2 separate regions of the Homo sapiens genome follow, and region 2 is linked to region 1. Evidence: promoter capture Hi-C in 16 types of primary human blood cells and fetal thymus (Javierre and others, 2016). All regions are on one chromosome and are shown on one strand. Each heading gives the region's core, a stretch centred on a gene start or on the middle of the fragment in contact. The rest is flanking DNA. Distances are from core to core; before and after follow the strand shown. Region 1 holds the start of METTL13 (methyltransferase 13, eEF1A N-terminus and K55). Region 2 overlaps DARS2 (aspartyl-tRNA synthetase 2, mitochondrial).

What was found. Contacts are between HindIII fragments. The CHiCAGO score rates a contact against its expected background, and 5 or more counts as called.
Region 2: a contact is called between a fragment that was not itself captured here and the fragment with the promoter of METTL13 in region 1, in 3 of 17 cell types (total CD8 T cells, non-activated CD4 T cells and naive CD8 T cells). The highest score is 7.7, in total CD8 T cells.

The regions. Positions count from the first base shown.
Region 1 is chr1:171,780,352-171,783,051 of GRCh38, reverse strand. It overlaps METTL13 (methyltransferase 13, eEF1A N-terminus and K55), which reads right to left and starts at 1,392. Exons shown (of 8, transcript NM_015935.5): 1 at 932-1,392. The coding sequence starts at 1,084. RefSeq lists enhancers at 1,046-1,579, 1,409-1,703. The HindIII fragment of the contact is 1,150 bases long and covers 1,005-2,154 here.
Region 2 is chr1:173,857,832-173,860,642 of GRCh38, reverse strand. DARS2 (aspartyl-tRNA synthetase 2, mitochondrial) reads right to left here. Exons shown (of 17, transcript NM_018122.5): 17 at 2,097-2,811. Among named protein-coding and RNA genes, the nearest start is that of GAS5-AS1, 4.0 kb to the left of the region's middle. The HindIII fragment of the contact is 2,407 bases long and covers 86-2,492 here.

The DNA of each region.
Region 1 (2,700 bases), core at 143-2,642:
GGGCCTCAGTTTCCTCATCTGTAAAATGTATGCATGGCCACTCACCTGAATTTATGATGAGAATTCAAAGATTGCACATGCACATACACAGCACCCAACATAAGGCTTGGCACATAAAGCTTCCCCACAAATGTTAAGTTTTCTACCTTCCTCCTTCCCTACCTCCAGTACAATCTCACCTATACCAAACCCATTGTTGTACTTATCACGTTTCACTTCTGGAACATGTGCAGGGTTTACGTCTTAATGCTCTTATAGTTTAAGGACTGAGCAGTGCCTGAAACTTGGGGCGCACTCAACGACTATTTGAAAAACAAATTCATACACAAAGTCACACCTGCTGCAGGTTGCACAGGAATGCACAGTGACAGAAGAACATACTTTCAAGATGGGAAGTCACTCTTCAAGTAGGGTTATTAATCCAAGAATGAGCTGGGGTGGGAGGTCTATTATCTGAAAACCTTTAAAGAAATGTTTTTTTTTTTAGACAGGGTCTCACTCTGTCACCCAGGCTGGAGTGCAGTGGCGTGATCATGGCTCACTGCAGCCTCGACCTCCTGGGCTCAAGCGATCCTCCCGCCTAAGCCTCCCGAGTAGCTGGAAATACAGATGCGCGCCACCACGCCCGGCTAATTTTTTCATTTTTTGTAGAGACGAGGTCTCATGTTCCCCAGGCTGGTCTTTAACTCCAGGGCTCAAGCGATCCTCCCACCTCGGTCTCCCAAAGTGTTCGGATTACAGGTGTGAGCCACTGCGCCCGGCCTGAAAGAATATTCTAGTTTGTCTTTTAGCAGGAACAATGCAGGAAATGCTGAAATATGCGTCCAACTAGGGTCCTCCCGCCTGTCACTGTCCACCAAGTGCAAGATTCCTGTTACCAGTTCCCACCTTCCGGAGCACGTACGAAGGGCTACCAACCCGCGCTCCTCACCTTTTCCCTGGGCTTGATATATTTATGTAGCACCCCGCACAGTTCCAGGTAGGTTCCATACCACTCGAAAGCTTTCTTTCCTCGCTGCTGGAAGAACTTCTCCCAATAGTCAACGGAGCCAAACTCCCTGGAACTTTTAGGTAAGAGGTTCATGTTCCTACTGCCGAAGCTGCGTTTTCAAGACTCCCCTATTCCCTGTGAGATACCATTTGAGGAGCTTGCCCACCACACGCAGGCTCCGGGACACTGCAGTGGGAATTCTTTCCACGGAAAAACAGCCACATTGATTTGTTCCCCCACTCCAAACCCCAGGAATGACCCTTACACGACAAACGCACGCATGGACCACTGAATCTCACACACGCTTGCCCCCTCCTCCGCGCCTGCTGTTCCTTCCCCACGTGAAGAGCCCCTCACACTTTTCCCGAACTAGATTTCCGAGCCCATAACCATATCCGGGTGCGAAGCCTCGTGATTCGTCGGCCGGCCCAGCCCAACTCAGCTAGTCATTGGTCGCTGCTTTGCGTTTCTATCACCTCATTGGCTGCGACGTGCTTGCCTTTCTCCGGAGGCTCCGTCGCAGACACCTAAACGCTTTTTTGACCTGAGGCCGGCCGACCATTCACGGAACGGGGCGGGACCGCGGGCCGGAGTTGTGGCGGAAGAGGCCGGGCCTCTGTGAGAACTAGGTCACGTCCGGGTGAGGAGTGAGCGCGGCTGTGCTGTGGTTGGGCCCTCCCTCCAGGCGGGGCGGAGAGCGCGCTTGCTTCCTGGGCTCGGCCTCCGCTTTGTCTTGGAGCCGGCTTAATCACTGACTCCGATCGTGCGCCGCACAAGGGCGGAGCGCGGCAGGCGGGAGCGTACTGGTAGAGGAGGACGAAAAGAAAAACCTATACAGATAGGAGAGAAGTGAGGCAGGAAATGAGTAAAGCCAGTCCGTCGTAAAAACGCTGCACATTCTAACCTTGTCAGCTTCTGCGCACCAGCACCCCCCGCCTTATTTTGCCACCTCTGCACCAAAATATAGGATTCTGCTATCAAAAGTGTAATAACATGAAAACTCCCTCTTCCTTCTCTCCGCAAAGCACAGCATGCAAAACTAGCCTTTCATTTTGATAATTGGCCTCCTTGTGTTATTCTGACGTTATTTATAACTGCTTATTTTATGTGTTTGATAAACATACTGTACTTTCACATGCTCATGCTAATACCCTGAGGAAGCTTCTGTGAAGGGCACTTTTTTTTCAGACAGGGTCTGTCTCTGTCGCCCAGACTGGAGTGCAGTGGTGCAGTCATGGCTCACTGCAGTCTCCACTTTCCAGGGGTCAGGGGATCCTCCCACCTCAGCCTCCCAAGTAGCACGCCACTACCGCTGGCTAATTTTTTTTTTTTTTTTGTAGAAATGGGGTTTCGCCATGTTGTCCGGGCTGTTCTCAAACTCCTGAGCTCAAATGATCATCTCGCCTCACCCTACCAAAGTGCTGGGATGACTGGTGTGAGCCACTATGCTGGCAGGCACTATTTGAAAATGACCAAATATGTGTATCACTGGGCCTTTCATACCATGATAAATTGCAGGAGGAATATACTGATTGCGGAGAGCAGATAGGCTTGGAATTGAGCATGTGTGCTGTGGGCTGTTACATACTACACTACCACAGGTAGATAGCCAGGTAGACTGTTAATAGTTAAGTAGGTTAGATTGGACTTAAACATTGGTTTAAAAAAGTGATTCTCAAACTGGCATGCGTCAGAATCACCTGGAGGAC
Region 2 (2,811 bases), core at 40-2,539, 2.1 Mb before region 1:
AATTTTGGCAGAGATTTGCTCAAAAAAGAACAAGTCAGCTTGGAAAAAACTGATGGCATTTGTTGCCAATGATAAAACTCAAGCTTCCAAATGAAACCTAAAATTTTGGAAGGCTTGTATACACTTCTGTGCCCTTATAGCTTCCTCAGACTTAGACTTTTGTAATGGGATTGGTGGTAATATTAATTAATGGTATTTTGTTTTAGATATTGTATATCAAAATGTGTCAACATTTGGAAGATTTGCATAACTCAGTGAACCAATATTTTCCAAATGATCAATCACTGGACTGGTGTTACAAATATCACACATAGGTAAAAGTTCTATTTAAATACAAGGTACACCAATGGACTTTAGAAAAGCTCATCAATACGATTTCAGAATCCACATTGCAACTAGCCTTTAAGGAACTCTACTACTTGTCATATTTTGGTGTGGTATCAAAGAGAGTATCCATAATTATCAGACAAAGCTATTAAAATACTCCTCCCTTTTCCAACTTTATATATGAGTGGGGTCAGATTTTCTTCACAGACTTCAACCAAAACAGCATATAACAACAGATAGGATACAGAAGCAGATATCAGAATCTAGTGTCTTCTATTAAGCCAGAAATAAAAAATATTTGCAGAAATATAAAACAATGTTACTCTTCTATTTTTTTTTTGAAAATAATTATTTTTAAAATAAAAACATGGCTGAGTGTGGTGGCTCACGCCTTTGTAATCCCAGAACTTTGGGAGGCTGAGGCAGGCGGATCACCTGAGGCCAGGAGCTTGAGACCAGCCTGGTCAACATGGCAAAACCTCGTCTCTACTAAAAATACAAAAATTAACCAGGTGTGGTGGAGGGCACCTGTGGTCCCAACTACTCAGGAGGCTGAGGCAGGAAAACTGCCTGAACCCGGGAGGTGGAGGATGAAGTGAGCCAAGATCGCACCATTGCACTCCAGCCTGGGCAACAGAGTGAGACTCTGTCTCAAAATAAAATAAAATAAAAACATGCTATTTGTGTTAACATGTAATGGGTTATTTTAAAATGAATTTAACATTTTAAACTAAATCATTAAATCAATTATTAATTAATTAAATAGGAGGCTGAGGCAGGAGAATCACTTGAACCCAGGAGGTGGAGGTTGCAGTGAGCCAAGATGGTGCCACTGCACTCTAACCTGGGCAAAAGAGCGAGACTCTGTCTCAAAAAAAAAAAAGGTATAAATCAAAAGAATTTCAAGGCAGAAGTGAAGACTGAGTAGAAGAAAACAATTTCAAAATCACTGATCAAGACCTTGTTCTCATTTTGTCTTTTTTTGAAATGGAGTCTTGTTCTGTTGCCAGGCTGGAGTGCAGTGGTGTAACCTCGGCTCACTGCAATCTCCACCTCCTGGGTTCAAGTGATTCTCCTGCCTCAGCCTCCTGAGTAGCTGGGACTACAGGTATGTGCCACCACACCCAGCTAATTTTTGTATTTTTAGTAGAGATGGGGTTTCACCATGTTGGCCAGGATGGTCTCAGTCTCTTGACCTTGTGATCTGTCTGCCTCAGCCTCCCAAAGTGCTGGGATTATAGGCGTGAGCCACTGTACCCGGCCTCATTTTATAATTATTAGTTTATTAAAACTTTTATGTGTATGATTAGAACTTAAAATCACAATGAGTTTTGGTGTTCACTTTTTCGCACATTTGAGGTTAATCTAAGGTTGATTAGAATTTTCAATTACTTATAATTGAGAGAAAATAGTGTTCAGTGATTAATAATATCTTTGTTGTCTTTTTTTTTTTGAGATGGAGTCTTGCTCTGTCACCCAGGCTGGAGTGTAATGGCACCATCTTGGCTCACTGCAACCTCCATCTCCCAGGTTCAAGCAAACCTCATGCCTCAGCCTCCCGAGTGGCTGCGATTACAGGCATGCGCCACCATGCCTGGCTAATTTTTGTGTTTTTAGTAGAGACGGTTTCACTATGTTGGCCAGGCTGGTGTTGAACTCCTGACCTCAAGTGATCCACCCACCTCAATCTCCCAAAGTGCTGGGATTACAGGTGTGAGCCACCACTCCCGGCCAATAATATCTTTAAAACTAAAAAAAAAAACAGAAAATTGATAAGTAAAATGACTTTTACTATTGATATCAGTTTTGTTTAATCTGAAACTATAAAATAGAGATATATCTACCTATTTATGGATGGATAATACCATCATCTCATATTTGTGGAATGCTTTATAGTTTTTCAAAGTACTTTTATTCACTTTATCTTCCATATATGTTATCTCCTCTGATTCCAGCAATAACAGCCCGGTGAGGTAGCCAGGGCAAGTATGTATTTTACACATTAGCAGGAAGGGAGGCTAAGCGAGGTTTATGTAACTTACTCAGGCTGAAACACTGAAGAAAAATTTGTGACTCTCATTTCAGTGATGTTTTCTGCATTATTAAAAAATATTATGCTACTCCTCACTATATTATGTTGATGGTTGAAATGTCATTATAAAGCTTAATTTATATGATTCTCTTGATGAGGATGATGAAGCAAATGCTCCATCAACTCACTAGTTTACAGGGGCAAGCATTTTCCTACATTTCACACATAATTTGATTACCTCTGTCCTAAGTGAATAATCTACTATCTGGGTATGAGAAACATGATTTGAAAACACTAAACCACTATATTATTTCAACAAAGAACCATCTTTCACACCTAAGTAAAAAGGAACTTCAAAAAAAGTCCTAACCAAAAAAAATCCAAATGATGCATGAAATCAAGTCAAAATTGGGTATCTTTTATCTGTTTCTTCGTTGTGGTGAAGAATGTTG